Linked DNA regions of Homo sapiens: regions 2, 3, 4 and 5 are each linked to region 1. Evidence: promoter capture Hi-C in 16 types of primary human blood cells and fetal thymus (Javierre and others, 2016). All regions are on one chromosome and are shown on one strand. The core of a region is centred on a gene start or on the middle of the fragment in contact, and the rest is flanking DNA. Distances in the headings are between cores, read along the strand shown.

Region 1 (4,823 bases), core at 971-3,470:
CCTTAAGTCTGATAGGAAACATTAACAATCTATTCTCTCTGAAGCCGGCAACCCGAGGCTTCAGCTGCGTGGAAAACCACAACCCCTTACTGCAACCCAGACATTCCTTTCTATTGATAATAACTCTTTCAACCACTGTCGGTCAGGATCATTTTGAATCTGCCTATAACATAGAGGTCTCCCCACACCACCCCAATTTATCCTGCTCTTTCAGATTGAACCCGTGTAAATAAATCATGTCTCCCTAAAATGTATAAAAGCGAGCTGTGCCACATGCACCTTGGGCACCTCCCGAGATGTCATGGGTGTGTCCTTAACCTTGGCAAAACAAACTTTCTAAAGGGACTGAGACCTTCCTCAGTTTGCACCCTCCAGGCTGGGTTCTCTGTCCCTCAAGCATCCCCTGGCCAGACAATCCCTGCTGTTCAGAGGCAGCCAAGGCTTTCTGGTCCAACCCTGGGGGCTGGAGGAGGTGGGGGCAGGAGGTGGTAACTGGGTTGGGGGATGTTTTCTTGGTTGCCAAAGCAGAGGGTGCCCCCCGCTGCTCAAGATGCTGAGGGTGGTCCCTGTTGTCCTATTCCTGAAGCTGCCAGAGGAAGTCCCTCCGGAGGGCTGGCCCACAGCAGAAGGGCTGCTCCTGCCCTCAGAGGGCAATCTCAGGGTTGAGAAGGTTACAGCCACCATCTGCCACCAACCTAGCTGCTTGTGCCGATCCCACTGGCCAAGGCCATCGGCTCTATGGCTAGAGGCCTGGGCAGCCTGTGTCCTGCTTACCAGAAGGCCACAGATGCGGGTGGGTGGGGTGGTGGGGTCTTGGCAAGACGTGCTGGCCACACCTGTCCGGGGCACCTTCTCCCTGGGGTGTGACTCAGCCATGCTCCTGAGCAGGGGCCTCTGAGTTGAGCCTCGCTGCAGTCTTCCCAGCTGCAGGGCCCCCACAGGTGTGCTGTCATCGCACACTACTGAGGGACAGACAAGGCAGAGCGGGCCTCCATCTGCCGCGGGCCACAGCCGTGAGTGTGCATGCGAGTGGATGTGCTGGTGCCTGTATCTGCGGCCGGTGTGGCTTCCCTCACATAACTTTCCATGCTGTGAAAACAGTTTGGCCTGCCCTGCATGGGAACGGCAGAGGCCTGAGAGGAGGCAGAGGAAGGAGGCTGGATGCTGAGATGTTCTCCGAAGGTGGAGCCGGTGACGGCAGTAATGGAGGCAGGCTGGATTCCCACGGGCTGAGGCTGCGTGGACACTCCTCCTGGCTTCTGCCCCACGGCCTGCAGCAACGTCTCAGACCCACCAAGGTGTCCCAGAGGGCCAGAGTCAGGGCTGAGCATGGACACAGCCTGCCCTCTGCCCGTAGCCACAGCGGGACTGACCCTCAATATTCAGCCACCTTGCTGACCTGTGGTTGTTCCTGAGAGGCAGTCAGGGTTGGGGCAAAGGAGAGGGCCACAGGCAGCCAGGTGGCGAGGTCCACCTCCTGATCCCCCACCAGGGGACCACCCTCAGCTCCCCGCTGTCCTCAGCGGCCTCTCAGGGAGGCGGTGGGCTGCGCGCCTGCCCCCAGCGTCCCACCCCAGCGCCCCGCCACCTACCGCTCTCTCCCAATGTGTCTGGGGTCAGAGAGAGGTGGAGAGGACGCAGCGCCCCGCGCTTTCTGCAGTCTGTCCAAGGGGAGGTCAGGGGCATCCCGGGGCTGGGCAGGCACCTGCAGGGGAGGGTGCTGCGGCGCGGACGTGGGTTGCAAAGAGATGCCACGCGTGTCACTCTCGGGTCCCTGAACGAGAGAGCTCTGAGCTCCCTGGAGCCCAACCCTCCACTGAGCCTCCAGGGGCCCGGGACGCTCCATGCCCGGGCCGCGCCGCGCCTCCCCTAAGGGCCGGGTGGGGCGTGGGAGCGGAGGACAAGGCGGGAGCCGGGAGGCGGGAGGGTCGGGGTTCTTTCTCCACCGGGGTCGCCCTCAGCCGGGCCTGCCGCCCTGGGCCGTGGCACATGGGGAGGGAAGCGCGCGGCTTCGGGGTCTGGGGCTCTCGCGCCCACTAACGGTGCCCGGAGCCGCCCGCCAGTGCGCAAGCGCCGCCCCGCCCCCCGCCCCATCCCCCACCCCGGGGTCGACGGCGACAGAGAGTCGTGGGCGCGGTCCGCCAGTCTGCCTAGAGCGGCCAGCCCTCCCCCTCCCTCCTCACCGCCCCGGACCGCGCACCGGAAGCAGAAGCTAGGCTGGTTCCGCCCCGCGAGCGGCCATCTTGGAGGCTGAGGCGGCGGCGGCGGCGCTGCGGCGGGTTCGGTGGGCCCAATCCCGGGGCGGTGCGGCTGTTTCGGGCGCGGGCCCCGCTTTTCCGCACCCTGCTCCGGCCTCGACTACGGCGAGCCTGAGCGCGGCGGCGGCCCACGCGCAGCGACAGGGAGAGGTGAGCGCGCTCGCAGGCCTGCGCCGGGTCCTCGGGCCCGCTCGTCCCCCCTGCCGGAGCCGGCCACAGCGGCGGCCCGGGGCTGCTGGGGACCCTGCGCGACGCTTCTCCGTTCGCGCCCGCCGCCCGCGGGGCCCCGGCCCGAGCCTGCCTGCGCGGAACCCGAGGTCGGTTACGGCGGGCTCCCGGAGCTCCGGGTCAGGGTCATGTCGGGGACTTGACCACTCGGCCGGGTTTCCCGTCAGCTGGGACACTTGCAGCTGCCCCAGGACGGGCAGCCTCGATCCTGGTTCGTCAGTGGATCACGGGAGTCTGTGTCGGGGGAGGGCTGCCGTCGAGCCCGCCGTCGCCTCGCCCCTGAACTGTTAGACTCCAGACTGCCCCGTAAACCCCGAGAGAAACGAGCGTGCCCGGGACTGTGCTTAGGGCCAGCGTTTCTGGGAAACCCGGGCGGTGACAGTGGGAGACCACCGCCGGCCGGCGAGTGAGACACGAGCCCGGAACAAGTCTCTAAGCGGCGCCGGGCCTCGCCATCCACACCTGCCAGTTCCCTGCATCCTTTCAGCCCCTGGCCAGGTGTCACCTCCTGGCGTCCTTTTCAGTGCCTGCCACTTAGTGCGTGTGTATTTAACTCTAGTCCGGTTGCCATCCTCTTGCCAGACCCAGATAGGAAGCGGCTGAAAGGTCGGGCCTCAGCCCGGTGGGAGGTGGGCAGCGAAGAGTGTACAGCGGGCTTGGCTGGGGCAGGTCGGTGGCCCCGCGCCCTGCTCCAGGGGAACCAGACTGTGTAATCTGGCTTCCGAAGAAAGGATCGTGAGTATCTCGCTTAGTCTAGCACCTGAGCCTAGGGCGTGGTTGGGTCTGGGTGCCCGGAACTTGCAGTCCGTCATCTGCACGGCCTGGCACCGCTGACCTCCTTAGCAGTTCCACTCTCGGCAGGGATGTGCGTGAGTGACAGGCAGGTGAGCCAGGCAGGTAGGTGAGTGCTTGAGTGACAGGCAGGTGAGCCAGGCAGGTAGGTGCGTGGATGAGTGACAGGCAGGTGACCCAGGCAGGTGCATGTGTGAGTCGCAGGTGAGTGTCCCATTTCCATCGGCCCGGGCTTCCGTCCAGCCTCCGGAGCAGTCTGGTGGAGAAGGCAGAGACTTCCCTGGCAGTCCTGGACCTGGGTGTGCCATGCGCCTGGCCGATGGGTCAGGCCAAGGTTTCCTGCCACATCCCCTAAGCAGGAAAGAGCTGTCCAGACAAAGAGGGACGGGTGAGGGACGCTGGGCAGCCACTGCCTCAGCACCTGGGCACAGCTGCCCTCGGTGATTCACGCTGCTTTAATGCAGTTTCTGTGTGTGAACATTTTTTTTTCCTGTGCCTTTTTGTTTTAAAATCGCCAACTCTTTCTCTCAGCAGGATGATATGCTTGGTGTCCTTTGTCTGTGGGGATGTTTGAAGGGAACCCGAGGCACATATGCTTCAAACTCTGTTCTCACAGTTTGCTTCCTTTGTGGAATTTTTTTTTTTTGATACAGGGTCTCTGTTGGCCCAGCTAGAGTGCAGTGACATGATCTCAGTTCACTACAGCCTCCGGCTCCCGAGTTCAAGTAATTCTCCCACCTCAGCCTCCAGAGTAGCTGGGATTGCAGGTGCCCACCACCACACCCGGCTAATTTTTTTTTTTTTTTTTTTTTTTTTTTTTTGAGACGGAGTTTCGCTCTTGTTGCCCAGGCTGGAGTGCAATGGCTTGATCTTGGCCCACCACAGCCTCCACCTCCTGGATTCAAGTGATTCTCCTGCCTCAGTCACCCGAGTAGCTGGGATTACAGGCACATGCCACCATGCCTGATTAATTTTGTATTTTTAGTAGAGACGGGGTTTTACCATGTTGGTCAGGCTGGTCTCGAACCCCCGATCTCAGGTAATCTGCCTGCCTGGGCCTCCCAAAGTGTTGGGATTACAGGTGTGAGCCACCACGCCCAGCCCCTTTGTGAATTTTTGTTTTCCTTGTCCTTCCTGCTGTCATATTGGGATGAGAAGAATTGGGGGAAATAGCCCCCTGGCCTCCTGGGGGACGTGAGAATGCTGTTCTGTGTGAAGCTCAGGAAGAGTGGCTGGGGAAACAGCAGTTGAATCGTGAACATGATTTTAAAAGCCTCTCCAAGCAGGTATGGGAGAGAAGCTTGTTTGTGACTCATTGGATGGAATCTATTTTATTTTTGCGCGGCTGTCCATGAACTTTCGTTAAACCTGCGGCCTGGCCACTTAGCTAAGCCCAGACCCACCTGCACTTGAATTGTCCAGTGAATTATTTTGTATATGGCAGAGTGTTAGCTTCAGGGTGAGTGTCGAAAGGACAGCCTGTGTGGCGGTGCTGCTTGGGGTCATCACTGTGGCCATCACCAGGTGTTGGCCTGAGGGGAGATC
Region 2 (4,823 bases), core at 875-3,374, 440 kb before region 1:
TACGTGCGTCACAGACCGTTCAGAATGGCTATAGAGAGAATACTCTAGCTGAAAGCGTGCGTGTGTCACAGACCGAAAACCAGAGAGAGCAAACTCTAGCTGAAAGCGTGCGTGTATCACAGACCGAAAACCAGAGAGAGCAAACTCTAGCTGAAAGCGTGCGTGTGTCACAGACCATTCAGAAGGGCTATGGAGAGCAAACTCTAGCTAAAAGCCTGCGTGTGTCACAGACCGAAAACCAGAGAGAGCAAACTCCAGCTGAAAGCATGCGTGTGTCACAGACCGTTCAGAGGGGCTATAGAGAGAATACTCTAGCTGAAAGCATGCGTGTGTCACAGACCGAAAACCAGAGAGAGCAAACTCCACCTGAAAGCATGCGTGTGTCACAGACCATTCAGAAGGGCTATAGAGAGAATACCCTAGCTGAAAGCATGCGTGTGTCACAGACCGAAAACCAGAGAGAGCAAACTCTAGCTGAAAGCATGCGTGTGTCACAGACCGAAAACCAGAAAGAGCAAACTCTAGCTGAAAGCGTGCGTGTGTCACAGACCATTCAGAAGGGCTATAGAGAGCAAACTAGCTAAAAGCATGCGTGTGTCACAGACCGAAAACCAGACAGAGCAAACTCCAGCTGAAAGCATGCGTGTGTCACAGACCATTCAGAAGGGCTATAGAGAGAATACTCTAGCTGAAAGCATGCATGTGTCACAGACTGAAAACCAGAGAGAGCAAACTCTAGCTGAAAGCATGCGTGTGTCACAGACCGTTCAGAGGGGCTATAGAGAGGATACTCTAGCTGAAAGCGTGCGTGTGTCACAGACCGAAAACCAGAGAGAGCAAACTCTAGCTGAAAGCATGCGTGTGTCACAGACCGTTCAGAGGGGCTATAGAGAGGATACTCCAGCTGAAAGTGTGCGTGTGTCACAGACCGAAAACCAGAGAGAGCAAACTCTAGCTGAAAGCATGCGTGTGTCACAGACCGAAAACCAGAGAGAGCAAACTCTAGCTGAAAGCGTGCGTGTGTCACAGACCATTCAGAATGGCTAGTCCATTTTTCCTCTGGGGTTTTCTCTCCCCCATTATATTGTTTGGGAGCAGTTTGTTTACATTTAAAATGACCTGAATTCAACAAGTATAGGAGAAAAACACACCCCAAAATGGGTATTTGCTCAAGTCCAAAGAATGGGTTAGGCTTGAGCAGTTTGATCTCGTACCAACATCAGGAGATTCTTACGGGTGTTAGGAAAATTGGACCTGGAGCCCGATTGAAATCTCATTATTATAAATACGCTTGATTAATTAATGTGGCTTCATTGCACAGTGGAGAAGCCCACTGATAGCAAAGCTTTGTTCTGTAGTCTTTGTGAAGAGTGGTTTTTGTATTATAAAACTGATAATTATAGTTTATTCAGTATAGAAAATTTTTAAAAGATGAATATTACAATTCTCTTCTGTGATAGCAGAATTGTTTTTCTTTTTTCTTCTTTCTTCATAATTAGACGCTTACTGCAGATAGTTTTCTATTTTCAAAGTTTTTTATTTAACATAAAATCATGATTATTCGACTGGGTGCAGTGGCCCAGGCCTGTAATCCCAGCACTTTGGGAGGACAAGGATGGAGGATCACTTGAGCCCAGGAGTTCAAGACCAGCTTGGCCAATATAGTGAGACCCTGTCTCTTCAAAAAAAAAAAAAAAAAGATTAGGATTACTTAACATCATTATTTAAATATTTAATGTTCTTGATTTAATTTCATTTTCATGTGATTTTTTTTTTTTTTTTTTTTTTTTTTTTTTTTTTTTTTGAGATGGAGTCTCACTTTTTCGCCCAGGCTGGAGTGCAGTGGCACGATCTCGGCTCACCGCAACCTCCACCTCCCAGGTTCAAGTGATTCTACAGCCTCAGCCTCCCTTAGTACCTGGGATTACAGGTGCCTGCCACCACGCCCAGCTAATTTTTGTATTTTTAGTAGAGACGGGGTTTCACCATGTTGGCCAGGCTGGTTTTGAACTCCTGACCTCAGGTGATCCACCCGCCTCGGCCTCCCAAAGTGCTGGGATTACAGGCGTAAGCCACCGTGCCCGGCCTCGTGAAATTTTTGAAGTGAGGTTTCTTTGCATGACACTTTATTTCTCATTAGGGAAGCATGCTAGAGTGAAAGAAAGAGAGCACGAACGTCGGAAACGACATCGAGAAGAACAGGATAAAGCTCGCCGGGAATGGGAAAGACAGAAGAGAAGGGAAATGGCAAGGGAGCATTCCAGGAGAGAAAGGTGAGTGGGCTGGGTCAGTTGAGGACTTTATGAAAGGGCCGTGGTAGTGTGTCCTGTCACAGCAATGAAGAAGAATTTGGCAATAGAAGTCACATTTGTTGCAGAAGTGGTAGACATGGAAACAGCACAGTGAACGCTGGACGAGGCTGACCAAGAGAACTGTCCTGAGGGAGTGAGTTTTCACTGCATCTGGAAGTAAGAACGGGTGTGATTTGATTGAGGGAAGACAATGAAGGGATCAGAAATCTGCACGTCCCGCCGGGCGCAGTGGCTCACGCTAGAATTCCAGCACTTACGAGGCTGAGGTGGTTGGATCCCTTGAGCCTGGGAGGTCAAGGCTGCAGTAAGCTATGACCATGCTACTGCACTCCAGCCTGGTTGACAGAGTGAGACTGTCTCAAAAAAAGGAGAAGGGAGATCCCAAAAACCTTGAAACAGTCTGGAAATCGGGACACTGGACTCCTAGGACTCCTGGCCATTAGTCTGTATATTCGTTCCCCTTTATGAGCCAGATTCCCAAGAAAGAACATCGGTGTAGCCCCAGATCTGTTCTGTGAACCAGGAAAAAGGCTGTAGGCCAGGTGCGAGCAGGCCCATCTCCGCCTTCAGAGTGAGTCCACAGAAAGCTTGCAAGCTGCTCCAGGAAGAGAGGAGTCTGAAGCGGAAGGGCGTGTGCAGCGATGTTTGCCAGCAGCCAGGGCTGGGTACACAGCATGTAAAGATGATGAGAGGGCGCTGGTTCTTGTTGATGCCGAAGGGTGTGGGAGACACTGAGGCCCAGGGGTCAAGGTCCGAGACCGCTGCTGGGTGAGCAAGGTTTCAGTTGGCCTAGTTCCTGTTAGTGTGTGAAACATTCATGTATGCCACGCCCTGTGCCAGACATTGAGTGTGTCTTGTCCCACGAGAGTAGAGCTTGGGATAGAAGTGGAGGTTGGTAGATGAAATTTGGGCTGTCATATTGATTTCCCAGAAGGTAAAGACAGGAGAGTGAATGAACAAAAATTGTTGGGGGCAGACTTCTGGGTAGGGCCGATTCAGATCAGCCAATCCAGAACTGGGTGTGGTAGCATATGCTACGTGGGAGGCTAAGGCCAGAGGACCGCATGACGCCAGCCTGGGCAACGTAGAGAGACCTTGTCTCTGACAAAAAGGAAACTGATAAGGATAATCTGAGAAGCACTGATGCTTGGAAAACTGCTGAGCTGTGGGTAAAAGCAGTAAGAATCTGACCTTCTGGCCTGAGAGCTGCTCCCTTTACTGCTTCCACTCTGCACTTGGAAGCACGGAGGTTCCACTGGGACAGGGCAGCTGCAGGACCTGCAGTTTCCTTGCTGCCTTGGAAGGGGTTACTCCGTTTAGAGCAGTGGGCAGTGGCCTTGCCCACCAGCATCCTCAGTGGAGGGAGGAAAAGGCCAAGAGGTCTGCTAGAATGAAGTACAGTGTGGTTGGGAGCAGCTGTGATCCCGCCAAAGACGTGCAGCAGAGACTGGAGAGAGCTCGAGCCGCCACCCACTTGTGACCAGCCCTGAGGATGCAGCTGCGTGAAAGGACCTAGCAGAAAATAGAAGCCGCCACAGATGCGAATGACGCCTGAACGTTCAGTGTGCTCCCTGTCCACACACAGCCGTGGGCCAAGGAAGCCTTACTGTGCTCGAGGTATTTGAGCCCAGCCTTTTTCCAGTGCTGGCTAATTGCTAAGCTGTGCAGCCATGGTGGTGACCCCTAGGAAGCCAAGGTTGAAAATTAAAATAGGCATGTGGGAAGGAACGGGGTGGCCATGAGCTATGAGGGAGATGGATTTCACGGACAACCAGACAGGCCTTGGTGGTAACAACGAAAGGGAAAACTTAGAATCCAGAATTGCTACAAATGTATTATCTAAAATACAAAGAAGTATGACAGTGTGACCCGTACTGAGGAAGAACATCATCAGTAGAAACTGTCTTGAGTGTCCAGATGTTGAATTTAGTAAAGGCTTGGAAACAACTTGTGGATGGAGCAGTAGAAATTATCCATTCTGAAGAACAGAGAGAAAAAAACAAGAAAAATGCACAGAGCCTCAGAAACCCGTGGTACAACATCTGCTGTACCAAAGCACGTCGAATGGGGGTTCCAGGAGAGAGGAAAGATATTTGTTACAATAATGGTTAAAAACTTTCCAAATTTTAATTAAAAAATATGCACATTCAAGAGCACAGGAAGTTTGAACTAGAATAAATGCAAAGTCACATCATAGTCAAACTGGCAAAGGCCAAAGAGAAAATGTTGAAAGGGCTCAGAGAAGAATGACCCATCCCATGAAAGGGGAGCTTCAATACCGCCAGCCACTGACTTCTTAGAAACAATGGAGGCCAGAAGGCAGTGGAGTGGCATACTCAAGCTGCTTAGAGAGAAGAACCATCAGCCAGGAATCAAAACTGTTCTACACAAGTGAAAGGGAACGAACGACATTCCCTGAGAAGCAGAGACTGGTGGGATTCATTGTTGGCGAAACCTGCCTTAAAGGAAATACTAAAGGAAGACCTTCAAGTTGAATAGAAATGACACCAG
Region 3 (4,823 bases), core at 810-3,309, 350 kb before region 1:
TGAGCCAGCCACAGCCCAGCCCTGACCCCGCCCCTCTGCCTCCACTCACCATCCTGTGAGCCCCACTCCCAGTCGGGGCCTCGCACCACCTTCGCTCCCTGGAAGATGCCCCTTAGTGGGATCCTCGGGAGGCCCTGGCGGGGACTCAGTGTGACACTGCAAGAGGGTTCACAAATAAAGCTCTCAGAAGAAAACCGCCATCTCTTCCCATCTTGAGCCACTTGGGAGAGCGATGCAGTGGAGCAGGCCCCCTGTCCACCCAGCCTGCTGGGCTCCGCAGCCCCAGCTCTTGCCCGGGAATGGCCGGTCCAGCAGGTCAGCATCCTCCACACGCTGTGAGGAAATGCCCCTGGGCTCAGGGGCCTGGAGCGAACCTGCGGACCACGTTCCTCCAGGGACTTCCCTGATGCCAGGCTGGGAAGGCACCCGGGCCCACCCTCGGCAAGACCTCTGGGTGCGGTCGCTTCATGCCTGCTGCCTCCCAGTGAGCTGGGGCACAGCCAGGCCCAGAGGTGGGCTCAGCATGTGGGAAGGGAGGAATGAGGAAAGCAGGCCTGGCCAACAGCACTCCCAAGACAACCACACCTCCCTCCACGTGCAGGGAGGGCCAGAGACAAAGGTGACAAATGCAGGGGACGGGGTGGCACCTCTGGCTGTCCTTGCCCCAAGCAGGCTAGATTCTCCCCGAGCTGATGCCCTCGGACCAGAGCGCAGCAGCCTCCAAGACAGCCCAGGTGCTGGCTCCGGGTATGGGCTGTCCTCCTGGAGGTCTCATGCCGCCCTGGGGGATGCTGGCTGCCTGATGGCCACTGCTGCCTGTAGAGCCACCCAGAGGCCACCCTCTGTGCCCTGCCCATGGCACCACTGCTTAAGGCCACGGCTCTGGAGAGACTTGCTCCGTCTTCCTGGGAGCGGTCAGGAGGCAGCACCCTCCCCGAAGGCCAAGGCCCCAGTGGCAAGGCCTGGGTACCCGCCGCACAGGAGCCGGTGCGGCCCGGGACTCACGGGCGCGAGTGAGCGGTCTCGTAGCGGTCGAAGGCGTGGGCGAGCTCATGCTTGTTGTGCATGTAGCACTGCGTGCAGAGGTCGTAGTCCAGGCACACACGGCACTTCCAGCGCATCCCCCGCAGCCCGTGCTTCTTGCAGCAGTCACAGATGATGTTGGGGTGCCGGACGCCTGGGGGTGGGGTGGGGTCAGAGGGGCGTTCCCGCCCCCGGGTCCTGCCCGTCCCGCCTGCCCTTGGCGCGCACCGATCTGGGCGTTGTCGTACAGCAGCAGGTCGTGCGCGCCCTGGTAGCCGGCGCGGTAGTTGGTGCGCGTGCCCTGGTCCCACTGCACGACCACTGTGCGGTCGGGTGTCGAGGGGCTGCCGTGGCGGCCAAGCTCCACCACCGTGCCCACGCCGCCCTCGCCGCCGTCCTGCTGGCCCCACTTCCAGTCCACGCCGCGCACCACCCGCATGCCCACCTGCACGCCCGCCTGGGGGTCTGGGTCCATGTTGGGCGGGGCTGCTCGGGACCTGTGGGCAGAGGGGTCCATGGTGGGCCGGGCTGCTCGGGACCTGTGGGCAGAGGGTATTCTCAGGCCACCATGGGACACTCCCGGTCAGAGTGGGCTCCGCGGGAGAGCAGAGAGGCCCAACGGGGCAGGCAGGCTGGTTCAAGCCCTAGGGCCCAAGGAGGCCCGCAGTCTGGCACCAGGGAGGCCGGTGGGAAAGGCGGGCGCCGTGCCAGCCTGGCGCGGGAACTGCAGGGTGGTCTGGGCCCAGGGATCAGGGAGCCTGGCCCCGGGGGCTTCATGAAAGGTTCACAAATAACGCTCTCGGAAGAAAACCACCATCTCTTCCCACAGCCAATTAATGAGCTGGACACTGGACTTCACTAAAGTAAGAGCTGCCGTCCCCCGAGACACTCACATGGTTGGACGGGCAGTGGCAAGTGAGCAGACACCGTGACACGCGTCCCTCAGAGGACTCGTGTCCACACAGGGCGAGGAACTCCTATGATCCACACGAAAACGTCAGACAACCCAACAGAAAAACGGCAAACACGATGCAGGCGCCGTACAAGACCAGCAGGCATCGGCCAGCGGGACCAGGAGGCATCTGTCCCCAGACACTGCTCCTGGGGGACACCAGCTTTGGGCCCTGCACGTCAGGGACAGTGCAGCGAGGCCACACAGCACCACAGAGCCTTCTCTGGAAAAGTGGCCCTGGCCACGCAAGGCACTCACGACAGAGGCCGGATACTCGAGCAGAGGCAGGTTCCTGGGTCCTCAGTGGCCACGGGGTCCTGAAGCGGGGCTGAGTCCCAACCAAGCAGGGACCCACTCGCCACACAGAGCACAAGCCAGAGCTCACCAGCAGATGGAGGGAAGTAGCCAAGTGCAAACGCCATGCCAGGCGGCTCCGTTTATACAAAGGTGCAAATCCAGGCTGCCGGAGGCAGGGATGGAGTCAGCCACAGGGCTCGAGGCCCAGGACTGCTAATCCCCAGTCTGGGCGCTGACCCCCGAGAGCTCACTCTGCAGACGTGAGTCACCGTGGGCTGCCTCTCTCCACCATGCTGGGCTTCAGCACAGTCTCGTTAACAAGAAGAATGGATGTGAACATTAAGAGGGAAAATCAGAAGGTGGAGGCTACAGCTGGCTGTGATCGCACCACTACACTCCAGCCTGGCGGGGAGGGGAGGGCCACCACTCAATTTTCATTAAACCACTAGGACCCCATGGCCAGGGAAGGAGGCAGCCCAGGAACACTGCCTGAAGCAGAGGTGGGGGACACGGCAGTCCCAGGAGGCTGGAGGGACCCCTGAGACTGGGTGGATGTGGCTGAGGATGGGAGGGGGCCCTGCCAACTCCAGGACACAGGCCAGCCTGGGCCTCACAGGCCAGCCCTCCACCTGGGCAGCACTGCAACCCAGTGCTTTGCATCTCAGGCCAGTTCAGGAGACACCCTGGCCCGGGAGAGGCTGCAGGTGAGCAGTGAGGAGGGGCCACAGCAAAGCCCCCGACTCCTGCTCTGACTCAGGGGCCTGAGCCCCACAGGTTGTCCCCCGAGCAAGGCCCGGTGAGGAGCCCAGCCCCACTCCGGAGACTGAGTCCAGTGCAGAGGCTCTGCCTGCAGGGCTGGGCTCCCGATCCGTGCCCCCGATCCGTGCCCCGGCTGCGAGTTGGAGCACAGGACTCCCTCTAATTCTCAGGGGCACAAACTTCCTGGCCAGCTTGGCCTCTCCAATGCTCCCTCCTCACCCTGCCCAGGACCGCGAGAGCTTCCACAGGAATGGGTGGATGTTTTACAAGCACAGCTCTCCCTGTCAGTGACTAAGAGGAGCCCCCACCCAGCAGCCGGGCTCTGCTTCTTCAGGGAAACCCCACATGGCCTCATCTGTCCAGAGGCCTCACCTGTCGGGTGACGCTGCCTCCCTCACCTGTCGGGTGACGCTGCCGAGATGTGCACCAAGGCCTGGGCCAGGGCAGGCTCCAGCACCGGGGCTTCCTTTTCCTGTGGCACCAGTGAGCCCCAGACAAGGAGAGGGGTCCCGTGGGCAGCTCCACAGCCATCAGGGAAGGCAGCTGGCTCTGCCCTCCCCACGGCCTCCTGCAGCCTCCCGGCTGGGCCTCCGCATGAGCGGCTTCCACAGCCGGCAGCCAGAGAAACCCCACCTTGCCCTCGGAGGCCCCGCGGAGCCAGGAGCCCACCCACCACCCAGGGTGACCCACAGGCCCTCCCCATGGGCCCCTGTGGCACTATTCCCCTCGCGGGGCCTCTGAGGGCAGCCCCCAGGTGGTGCACTGCTGCGTCCTGTTTGGCCAGGACCCCACCAGCTTCAGCTTTGACTGAATGGCTGCATGAATGAAACATAAGAACCAGAGAGAATCTGTGCCAGGCTTCTGTGACAGCGGCAGCCCCTGTGTCCCGAGGACCCGCCCAGCACAGGCCGCTTCTAGCCATCCCAGCGCTGACTGCGCCTCACCCAGAGCATGTCCAGGTGGACACAGTTCCACCGGCCAGCCCAGCTCCATGGCCCCACCTGGGTCATGACACTTGACTCTCCAGATCTCTGCAGACCCTCCCATCCCCACTGGGGGCTGTCTTGGAGGGAGGTCACTCCCTCCTGCCCCAGCAGCTCCCCACTGCCTGCTCTGCCACCAGCTGGGGGGCAGGCTCTGCAGGGTTCCTGCTCCCAGGATCCACAAACTGACCTCAGCTTTTGCCCATGGAGCACCCAAGAAGGGTGAGGCATGGCCTGGGCTGAGCTCCCCCACTCCAGCCTCCTCTACACAGGGACCTTCGCCACAGAATGGCACAGGCCGGGGAGGCCGACGCAGCAGTCTGCTGGCGGGGGGACAAGTGAGAGGGGCACTGCTCCTTAGGGTTGCAGACCCCACCCCCTGCCAGGCCGTCCACCTCCACCAGATCCACACGCAACCTCCTCCTTGCCAGGATCCCACCAGAATCGGCCACAGCTGGAATCACACTAAGCCGGGGACTCCTCCCTGCCAAACACCTCCACTTAGCCAGAGCAGGGCTCATCACAGGCAGCCGCAGAACCGACTGGAGGTCTTTGCTAGTAGGGGACACGCATCTGCCGACCCCCGAGATGGGCCCGGCAATGGAGATGAAGGACTTGGGACCGCAAAAAAGCCAATGCCATGAGCCCACACTGTGATCCTTCTGCAGCAGGGGGCGCCTTCTGTCTCTGCGCCCAGACTCTCAGCCACAGCCAGCTTAGCCCAGGCCAGCGGCCACACCTGCCCGACCCGCTGGCCATATGCCATTGGACCTTTCCAAAAAGACAGGGGCAGGGTGCCCCATGTGTGA
Region 4 (4,823 bases), core at 811-3,310, 310 kb after region 1:
GCCGCGTGCGCTCTGCCTCGGGGCTGCAGGAGGCGGGCGGGTCAGGCTTCGCCCCGCTGGAGCCGCCCGCCCGCCCTGGAGCCGCTGGGGGGCCCGGGCAGCCCGCGGGGACCCAGCCCCTGGTGCGACGGGGGCGCCGGCAGCCCTCGCCTGACCTCCGCCAAGGACCCCCGCCCCGGAGCGCGCCGTGTCCAGGCCTCCGCTGCGCCCCTGCTCCCCTGGGGCGTAGTCAGAGCCGCGAACAGAGCCCCGCGTCCGGCCCCGCTTCCCGGCGCCCCCACGAGCTCAGCTCCTCCGCGTCCCTAGCCGCCCTCTCGGGACCGCAGCGGGAGTCGCGTCCTGGGCGCGCGGGGCGCGGGTGGGGAACCTACTCCGGGCCGACCCCGCTCCGCACCTGAGTCCCGACCTCCCCCGGCCCTCGGAAGCGGCCCCCGCCCCTTCTGCGAGCGGACGCGAGGGCGGGGGCCGCGCAGGTCCCGAGGCCGCCCCCCGCGCCCCGACCCCCGCCCACTCACGCCGGCGGCTGCGGCGGTGGAGGCGGCGGCGCCTCGGGCCCGGGCCCCGGGCTGCCGTGCTCCGGGCTCTGCGTCCTGCCGGCCGGGCGCTCGCTGCGGGGCTGCATTCGGCTGCCGGACCCACCGCCGATTCGCGGAGGACCCGCGGGCTTAACGGACGCGGAGACTGCCGGAGGGCTGCTCGGCGGTGGCGGCCCGCTCTGTGTCGCTCACTCCCGCCGCTCCCGCCCGCAGCCGCTGTTTCTCGGCGCCGCCCGCCCCGCCTCCCGAGAGGCTTCGGGGACTAGACGTTGGACGCGGATTCTTCCAGCGCTGCGCCCCGGGTCCGCCTCCTCCTCCGAGAAGCACCCCCAGACCCCGCCATCCTCCTCCTCCGGGAAGCCCCCCACCAGGCCTCGCCCTCCTCCTCCTCCGAGAAGCCCCCCTAGGCCTCGCCATCTTCCTTCTCCGAGAAGCCCCCCAGGCCCCGCCATCCTCCTCCTCTGGGAAGCCCCCGGCCTAGCCCTCCTCCTCCTCCTCCTCCGGGAAGCCCCCCTAGGTCTCGCCTTCCTTCTTCCCCGGGAAGCCCCCCACAGGCCTCGCCCTCCTGTTTCTCCGAAGAGCCCTCCTAAGCCTCGCCCTCCTCCTCCTCCAAGGAGCCCCCCTAAGCCTCGCCCTCTTCCTCCTCCGAGGAGCCCCCCAGGCCTCGCCCTCCTCCTCCCCCGGAAGCCATCCCCGCTCCCCCGACCCCCTAACTTGCTCTCCTCCGGGGAGCCCCGGGGCCCCGCGGCACCAAGAAGTCGAATGGGACCCCGAGGCCAATCCGCCCGTGTTCGCCTCACGCGCCCCCTCAGCGCCAGGGCTGGGGGAGCCGTGCCTGCGCCCCGCGGCGCCCTTGTCGCGGGGTCTGGCTGTCCAGGCCCGGGGGCCCGGGTGTCAGGCTGGTAGCGGGAAGGAAGGCGCCGGCCTCCCCACCGTCTTCGTCCCGTGCGGCGTCCCCGGGAAGAGCCGCGGTCGGCACCCAGAGGGCCATGGACGGGGAGCGCCCTGCGTGGTGTTCGTGGCGCTGGCCCGGTCTCCGCGGATCGGAGGCGAAGCCAGCCTGGCCCTCGGGTCGCCCGTCTTTTGTCGAGCTGGCGACATCAGTGCGGTTCCCACTGCCCCTCGCGTTTTCCACTGGACTCCCTGCTTTTTATTGTTGATTTGTGGGAGCTCTTTGCATAGGAGCCCCGCCGTTGCAGTCTGGCGTCCTCGCAGGCGCGTGCCTTCGGAGCGCCGGGTGGGCTGCGGGCGCGGCGGGACTCCCGGTCTTCCCCGGGGCGGACACCGGCGTCACCGCGTCCTACGGAGCCGGGCGCCGAGCGGGAGGCGCATCTGGGCCCCACCGGGGCTGCCCGCACCGAGCACGCGAACGCGCCCTCCCGCCCTGAGGCCGCCGGCGTTGCGGTCGGAGAACCATAGAGCCACTCGGCTGGGCGTGGCGCGGCGGGGCGGGGAAAGGGGCGGGGCCTGGGCGGCGGAAGTGCGCAGCCGCGCGGCATTCTGGGGCCGGAAGTGGGGTGCACGCTTCGGGTTGGTGTCATGGCAGCTGCGGGGAGCCGCAAGAGGTAAGCCGCGGGTCCGAGGGCCGATTTGGCCTCCCGGTGGGTGTCTGTATCCAAGGGGGCTTTTCTTGCTCCTCTCAGCGGGGCTGGGGCGAGCTGGGCGTGCGGGCAGCTGTGACTCCTGCGTGACCCGCAGGCGCCTGGCGGAGCTGACGGTGGACGAGTTCCTAGCTTCGGGCTTTGACTCCGAGTCCGAATCCGAGTCCGAAAATTCTCCACAAGCGGAGACACGGGAAGCACGCGAGGCTGCCCGGAGTCCGGATAAGCCGGGCGGGAGCCCCTCGGCCAGGTTAGTGGGGACATGCGTGAGCAGAACCTCTTGCTCGTCCTGTCCCACCCCGGTTGGGTTGCTGACCTCGCCTGGGGTCTCAGGGCCAAGGCCTAAGGATCGCCGACCTCTGCCCCCCAGTCCTTTCAGCTTAACTTACTCTTTCATCCGATGTTTACTGAGCTCCTGTTCCGTGCCAAACTCTGTCCTAGGCAGGGAGCGTATGTTGGTGAGTTGTGCAAAAATCTCTTCCCGATCTAGGAGAACTCTCACGTTCTTGGGTGAAATCACCGCCTGCAGTTCGGTAGAAGAGAGATAAGTGCTGGGGAGGGAAAGGAAGGACAGAGGGGCTGAAGAGAGAGTTGCAGGGGAGCCGAGTTGCTCTGTTAGAAGGAGCGGAGGCTGTGCTCGGTGGCTCACGCCTGTAATGCCAGCACTTTGGGAGGCCGAGGCGGGCAGATTACCTGAGGTCAGGAATTCGAGACCAGCCTGACCAACACGGAAAAATCATGTCTCTACTAAAAATATAAAAATTAGCCGGGCGTGGTGGGCACCTGTAATCCCAACTACTCGGGAGGCTGAGGCAGGAGAATCGCTTGAACTTGGGAGGCGGAGGTTGCAGTGAGCCGAGATGGCACCATTGCATTCCAGCCTGGGTGAGAGAGTGAGACTCCATCTCAAAAAGAAAAAGAAAGAAATCAAAAGATACAAAAATTAGCCTGGCGTGGTGACACACACCTGTCGTCCCAGCTACTCGGGAGGCTGAGGCAGGAGAATCGCTTGAACCCGGGAGGCGGAGGTTGCGGTGAGTGGAGATTGCGCCACTGCACTCCAGCCTGGGCGACAGAGTGAGATTCCGCCTCAGGAGAAAAAAAAAAAAAAAAAAAAGCGGAGGTGGTTGTTTGAGAAGATGACGTCTGAATAAAGACCTCGAACAAGGAGGCCACACAGACAGTAGGGGAAACGTGTCTTAGGATTTCAGGCAGCAGAAAACAGCAAAAGCCTTGCAGTGGGAGCATTTGGGGAGAGTACAGAGGTAAACGTGGCTACGGCAGGAGTGAGGGGGTGAATAGGGGTAGATGAGCCCAGAAGGGTGATGAAGAGCCAGGTGCCGTAGACCGTCATAAGATTGCCTCGTAAAACAGGGAGTTACTTCTGGGTTTGAGCGGTGGAGTGCCTTGTAGGTGACAAGGGTGGAAACAGAGAGACCTTTAGGTTAACTGAGAATTGAACTATGTGGTGGTTTGAGAGGAGGCACGAACGGTTTTGAAGGTGTTGCTGATGAGATCTGATGACAAGTTGCGTGCTGGGTATTAGAGACAGAGATTTGCCTTTAGTCTGAGCCTCTGGAAGGGTGAAGCCACCATCAGGCAAAAGTAGCGCAGGGCACAGGCACAGCAAGTCCAGGGAAGACCGCGGCTGGGGGCCTGTGTAGCGCAGGGCGCAGGCACAGCAAGTCCAGGGAAGACCGCGGCTGGGGGGCCTGTGTAGTGTGTTTGAGGGTATGTTGTAGAGGTTGTTGGGTAGGAGACGTGAGTCTGCCAAAAACGTACCTCCTGGCAATCCTGTCTTGCTAGTTGGTAACCCTTGTGAAGGGAGTAGACTGACCCTGTAGGCCACTCCCCGCCCCCTCTACTTCCACTTCCCACTGGGGTCGCTGACTTCTGCCTCCTCAGCCGGCGTAAAGGCCGTGCCTCTGAGCACAAAGACCAGCTCTCTCGGCTGAAGGACAGAGACCCCGAGTTCTACAAGTTCCTGCAGGAGAATGACCAGAGCCTGCTAAACTTCAGCGACTCGGACAGCTCTGAGGAGGAAGAGGGGCCGTTCCACTCCCTGCCAGATGTGCTGGAGGTGAGGGCGTGGGCCAAACCAGAAGGGGGGCACTTGTCTCTACACTCTCCTTCAGCTCAGCCTTTCTGTGCAGGAAGCCAGTGAGGAGGAGGATGGAGCGGAGGAAGGAGAAGATGGGGACAGAGTCCCCAGAGGGCTGAAGGGGAAGAAGAATTCTGTTCCTGTGACCGTCGCCATGGTTGAGAGATGGAAGCAGGCAGCAAAGGTGAGCAGCAGCCAGGGGCGGGCAGCTGGGTGCCCAGGCAGAAATCTGGCCTTGCCTCACCTGAGGTGAGCAGCAGCGAGGGGCGGGCAGCTGGGTGCCCAGGCAGAGATCTGGCCTTGCCTCACCTGAGGCGCCTGAGGCTGTGCTGGTGGGAGGGGCTGTTCTCCACGCAGGGGACGCTTGGAGCCTTCTTCAGCGCAAGTGACAACACGTTGCTCCTCCTGCTTGCTTGGTTGCCCCAGGACTGTGTGTTCACTTTTGGGTAGATTCCAGGGGCTCTGTTGGCGCCCCACTCCCCAAAGTCAGTCCCGCTGTGGGTGGGACGGACTGTGCCTTTGTTGGTTGGTGGAGCTGGGGTCCTTCTGAGCCTCTCACAGTGTTTTTTTCCAGGGACAAGGATA
Region 5 (4,823 bases), core at 709-3,208, 300 kb before region 1:
CTCTGTTGCCAGGGTGAACTGCATAGGCACAATCTCAGCTCATAGCAACCTCCGCCTCCTGGGTTTAGGTGATTCTCCTGCCTCAGCCTCCTGAGTAGCTGGGACTACAAGTGCGCACCACTACATCCGGCTAACTTTTGTATTTGTAGTGGAGACAGGGTTTCACCATGTCGGCCAGGATGGTCTCGATCTCTTGACCTCGTGTTCCACCCGCCTCGGCCTCCCAAAGTGCTGGGATTACGGACGTGAGCCACCGCGCCCGGCTACAAGTACAATTTCTAACAGAATAATGCTGACACAGCACTTTGAGATGATAGAAAGACTACAGAAGTGACAAAAGTTGAAGTTAATAATGGACTCCAGGTTAGACTTAGCCTGAGAGCCACACCCTTCAAACCTCCTTTGATGCTCAAATATGGTAAAAAAGGGTTTTGACAATGACTCCCAGCAGCCACTCTCTCCAGTGTGGGACCAGACCAGCTATCTGGGACAAGTTCATCCCAGCACGGGGACTATCAAAACCTAATTACAGGATGACTCATTAGTGATGCATTTGGAGAAAGATCTCAATCAAAAGGGGAAAATACCCAAGTTGTCAAATAAAAGTGGACTCACTTATGTTTAAAAAATACCTTGACAAAGACAGCTGGGAAAGGCCATGGAGAATTCTCATGAATCAATAATAAGAAAAACTATCACAAGATTCTGCAAAAACCACAACCTTGCACTAAGGCAATCTTACACAAAAAATACTTCAGCAAGGACAGCTGCCCAGCAACTGCCTGTCCAACCCTGGAACGGGAGTACACTTGTTTTTTTTTTTTTTTAGACGGAGTCTGGCTCTGTCGCCCAGGCTGGAGGGCAGTGGCGCGATCTCGGCTCACTACAAGCTCCGCCTCCCGGGTTCACGCCATTCTCCTGCCTCAGCCTCCCGAGTAGCTGGGACTACAGGCGCCCGCCACCACGCCCGGCTAATTTTTTGTATTTTTAGTAGAGACGGGGTTTCACCGGGTTAGGCAGGACGGTCTGGATCTCCCGACCTCGTGATCCGCCCGCCTCGGCCTCCCAAAGTGCTGGGATTACAGGCGTGAGCCACCGCGCCCGGCCGGGAGTACACTTGTTACTGTTCTTTGTAGCCAAGGTTAATTATTTCCAAACCATTATCTTCCTCTTCATTTTTTCTTTAAAAACCATTACTTTCCTGAATGCGCAAATCGTTTACTATGGCACGCATATTCGCCAACGCCCTATTCCCAAATAAATATCATTTTCAGTTAGCCTGTTATTAGGTTGACAATCATTATCACTCCCTCTCCCGTCCGTGGCGCTCCCACGGCAAAACATCAGCCCACTGTCCACCGCGAGGCTGCATCCAGGCAGACAGGCATAGCTGGGGAATGACACACTCGCGTTGACTGGATTTACTGTAACTGGACCCAAATCTCAGACCAGCCGGCGGCCTCTCCAAGGAAGCCCGAGGCGAGGAAGATCCTAGTCGACGTGCACTCCCAACCAGGTCTGTCACAGGTCGGCCCTCGCATTTAAACGTTAAATGTTGAAGGGCTTTCATAAAAGAGCGATGTGCTCCTGCTTGTATGAGCCGGGGCCGGAGGCCGGTAACAGCGGCACGGGACGGGAGCGAGCCTCAGAATGCGGGAATGTCTGTGGGCCTCCGGGACAGTGGAGGGAGCGGGTCTAGTGAAGCGCGACGACTCTGGGGTGGCAGAAGTGAGGACTATGGGCCCCACGGGGACCGAGGGAACGCACAAAATCGTCCCAAGAGACGAAACGCCGGGCCGCGGAAGGGCCCTCAATGCTATCTCCGGCAAGCGCGGCGTTTCGCATCGCTCCCAAAGGCGGCGGCGACACCTTATGACGTCCTGTTGTTCCGCACGTCGTCGCGTCACACTAGGCGCCGGCGCGGGGTGCTGATGTCAGGACGCCGCCGCTTGGCGCCGTGACGCTCAGCCGGGCCTTGTGGAGTGCGGGTCTCTGCTGCGGACGCCGGGGGCCGGCGCGGCGTTGGCCGCCCCCGGCCTCGCCGAGTGCAGCGCGCCCGAAGGCCAGTGCCTGCGCTCCGTCCGCGGCCCGGCGCCCAGGGTGGGCGGGGAGGCCGCCGCGCAGTCGCCGCACGCTACACCGCCGGCGCCGTCGTTTCGCGTCGCCCGCTTCCGGCCACCGCGGCCGCCATTTTGTTCGCGCGGAAGCGCCGCGGTAGGGTGGGAACCCAAGCGGGAGAGCCGCGGGATTTGCGGCCGCCGCCATGCCGTCGTCCCCGCTGCGGGTGGCGGTGGTGTGCTCGAGCAACCAGAACCGGAGCATGGAGGCGCACAACATCCTCAGGTAGTTGGGCTCCACCCTGTCCCCGCGCGCTCTGCTCCGGCGACCGGCCCTCCCTCCTCCCCGGTTCCCCCTGGCCCGCGCCAGGACCCCTGAGAGGAAGCCGGGCCGGGCCGCGCTCGTGGGTCGGCTGGTTGGGATGGCAGCTGGACGGCAGCGCGCGTAGTCCACACGCGGGTGGGCATCACAGGGAAGGCAGGTTCCGGGACGAGGCGCCCGCTGTCCGGTGGTCCTTCGAGCTCTCCGAGGCCGGGCCCGGGGGGCGAGGGTAGCGTCCGCGGCGAGGGGCTGCGCGGCGGCGGCCGATCATGGTATTTCGTGTGCGTCGTTGGCCACCTTCCCTGGAAACGGCGCGCAACACAATCACGGCATACCACGATGTTGTAAATAACAAAGCGGTCTCTTTTTTTAATGCCATGGATTTGTGTGTTTGCTACTTCTTCTTCTTTTTTTTTTTTTGCGAAAGATCCTCTCTTCCTCCCTGGAACGCCTCCAACCGGTAGTTTCTGGAATACAACGTGGACTTGGTTTGGCTCTGCTAGTTTATATTCCCTGCTAACTGGCCGCCTGTGACTCTTGCGTAGCGTATGTCTAATGAAAGTTTATTCCTGCTTGATAACAAGTTTTTTGTTCAGTCACATAGCAAACTGAGAAACTGACCACTTGACTTACAGTTAAAATTTGGTATGTGTCAACTTTGATAGTAAGAAAGTTGAAATGGCTTTTTTACCTCCAAAGTTACCTACGTGAACTTTAAATGAAAACAGTGTTTCGCTTCTCTTCTCGCAGTCCAGCTATAACTTTCCTGAGCAACTTGGGAAAATTAACAGTCCCCCTTTTTTTTCCGTTTTTAACAGTGTCACGTGGGCCAGGCACGGTGGCTCACGCGTGTAGTCCCCGCACTTTGGGAGGCCGACGCACGCGGATCACCTGAAGTCAGGAGTTGGAGACCAAAAAACACCCCCCAAAAATCAGTGTCAAGTGTTCATGATCTGCTGATTCTTTCTCTTTATTCTTTTCTTTCTTTTTTTTTTTTTTTTTTTTTTTTTTTGAGACAGAGTCTTGCTCTGTCGCCCAAACTGGAGTGCAGTAGCGCGATCTCGGCTCACTGCAACTTGTGCCTCCCGAGATCGAGCTATTCTCCTGCCTCAGCCTCCCGAGTAGCTGGGACTACAGGCACCGGCCACCAGGCACGGCTAATTTTTTTTTTTTTTTGTATTTTTAGTAGAGACGGAGTTTCATCATCTTAGCCAGGATGGTCTTGATCTTATGACCTCGTGATCTGCCCGCTCGGCCTCCCAAAGTGCTGGGATTACAGGCGTGAGCCACTGCGCCCGGCTTTTTTTGTATTTTTAGTAGAGACGGAGCTTCACCATGCTGGCCAGGCTAATCTCAAACTCCTGACCTCAGGTGATCTGCCCGCCTCGGCCTCCCAAAGTGCTGGGATTACAGGCGTCAGCCACCGCATCCGGCCAAAGGTTGTTTTTAAAACTAGAAATGTGCTAGAATTACATTGTGCTGGATCTTCATTTATAAACTGCAGTTACCTGTAAAAATTTGATACATTTAAGCAAAACAATGCAAGGCTCACCCCCCCCCCCCCAAGACAAAATTATTGTTAATTGGAATAACAAATGGGCTGGAGACCTTCTGGTTCTGCTGGTTCTCCTTGGTGATCCTTTGTTCAAGATTTTCTGCTGTACCTGCATAACAAAGATGGAGTAGGCCGGGCGCAGTGGCTCACACCTGTAATCCTAGCACCTTGGGAGGCCGAGATGGGCGGATCACAAAGTCAGGAGATTGAGACTATCCTGGCTAACACGATGAAACCCCGTCTCTACTGAAAATACAAAAAAATTAGCCGGGCGTGGTGGCGGGCGCCTGCAGTCCCAGTTACTCGGGAGGCTGAGGCAGGAGAATGGCATGAACCCAGGAGGCGGAGCTTGCATTGAGCCGAGATCATGCCACTGCACTCCAGCCTGGGCGACAGAGCAAGACTCCATCTCAAATAAATACATAAATAAAATAAAGTTGGAGTAGAATATATATTTTTTTTCTTGAGGGGGAGTCTGTAGCCCAGGCTGGAGTGCAGTGGTGCTATCTCAGCTCACTGCAAGCTCCGCCTCCTGGGTTCACACTATTCTCCTGCCTCAGCCTCCTGAGTAGCTGGGACTACAGGCGCCCGCCACCACGCCCGGCTAATTTTTTTGTATTTTTAGTAGAGACGGGGTTTCACCATGTTAGCCAGGATGGTCTCGATCTCCTGACCTCGTGATCCGCCTGCGTGGGCCTCCCAAAGTGCTGGGATTATAGGCGTGAGCTACTGCGCCTGGCAAGATGGAGTAGAAATCTTAACAAAAGGAAATGTTTTAAAAATTCTATTTAGGGCTGGGCGCGGTGGCTCACGCCTGTAATCCCAGCACTTTGGGAGGCCGAGGCAGGTGGATCACGAGGTCAGGAGATCGAGACCATCTTGGCTAACA

The links. The method cuts DNA at HindIII sites, captures the fragments that hold promoters and counts their contacts. A CHiCAGO score of 5 or more calls a contact.
Region 2: a fragment that was not itself captured here is called in contact with the fragment with the promoter of UBE2J2 in region 1 in 1 of 17 cell types (naive CD8 T cells); the score reaches 6.7 in naive CD8 T cells.
Region 3: a fragment that was not itself captured here is called in contact with the fragment with the promoter of UBE2J2 in region 1 in 1 of 17 cell types (fetal thymus); the score reaches 5.1 in fetal thymus.
Region 4: the fragment with the promoter of NOC2L here is called in contact with the fragment with the promoter of UBE2J2 in region 1 in 6 of 17 cell types (naive CD4 T cells, M1 macrophages, endothelial precursors and 3 more); the score reaches 7.8 in naive CD4 T cells.
Region 5: a contact is called between the fragment with the promoter of SSU72 here and the fragment with the promoter of UBE2J2 in region 1, in 4 of 17 cell types (fetal thymus, total B cells, total CD8 T cells and 1 more). The highest score is 6.8, in fetal thymus.

What each region holds. Positions count from the first base shown.
Region 1 is chr1:1,271,251-1,276,073 of GRCh38, reverse strand. It overlaps UBE2J2 (ubiquitin conjugating enzyme E2 J2), which reads left to right and starts at 2,220. Exons shown (of 7, transcript NM_058167.3): 1 at 2,220-2,408. LINC01786 (long intergenic non-protein coding RNA 1786) reads right to left here and starts at 2,072. Exons shown (of 3, transcript NR_185846.1): 1 at 1,593-2,072; 2 at 775-1,271. RefSeq lists enhancers at 736-1,374, 2,565-3,072, 3,073-3,579, 3,580-4,088 and silencers at 1,586-1,635, 1,796-2,375. The HindIII fragment of the contact is 5,565 bases long and covers 1-4,580 here.
Region 2 is chr1:1,713,796-1,718,618 of GRCh38, reverse strand. It overlaps CDK11A (cyclin dependent kinase 11A), which reads left to right. Exons shown (of 20, transcript NM_024011.4): 5 at 2,141-2,273. Among named protein-coding and RNA genes, the nearest start is that of CDK11A, 8.2 kb to the left of the region's middle. The HindIII fragment of the contact is 1,554 bases long and covers 1,348-2,901 here.
Region 3 is chr1:1,620,128-1,624,950 of GRCh38, reverse strand. MIB2 (MIB E3 ubiquitin protein ligase 2) reads right to left here. Exons shown (of 20, transcript NM_001170687.4): 3 at 1,252-1,520; 4 at 1,006-1,177; 5 at 50-156. The coding sequence starts at 1,498. It overlaps LOC124903821 (a long non-coding RNA gene), which reads left to right. Exons shown (of 3, transcript XR_007065352.1): 3 at 1-194. Among named protein-coding and RNA genes, the nearest start is that of MIB2, 7.0 kb to the right of the region's middle. The HindIII fragment of the contact is 8,411 bases long and covers 1-4,823 here.
Region 4 is chr1:956,493-961,315 of GRCh38, reverse strand. It overlaps NOC2L (NOC2 like nucleolar associated transcriptional repressor), which reads left to right and starts at 2,060. Exons shown (of 19, transcript NM_015658.4): 1 at 2,060-2,101; 2 at 2,235-2,387; 3 at 4,043-4,217; 4 at 4,291-4,422. The coding sequence starts at 2,076. KLHL17 (kelch like family member 17) reads right to left here and starts at 732. Exons shown (of 12, transcript NM_198317.3): 1 at 516-732; 2 at 1-23. The coding sequence starts at 622. RefSeq lists silencers at 179-508, 529-838, 1,797-2,056 and enhancers at 2,167-2,276, 1,935-2,792. The HindIII fragment of the contact is 14,217 bases long and covers 1-4,823 here.
Region 5 is chr1:1,571,998-1,576,820 of GRCh38, reverse strand. It overlaps SSU72 (SSU72 homolog, RNA polymerase II CTD phosphatase), which reads left to right and starts at 1,958. Exons shown (of 5, transcript NM_014188.3): 1 at 1,958-2,343. The coding sequence starts at 2,264. SSU72-AS1 (SSU72 antisense RNA 1) reads right to left here and starts at 1,874. Exons shown (of 1, transcript NR_197593.1): 1 at 1-1,874. RefSeq lists silencers at 166-335, 1,995-2,154, 2,395-2,474 and enhancers at 1,685-1,754, 1,765-1,874. The HindIII fragment of the contact is 11,232 bases long and covers 1-4,823 here.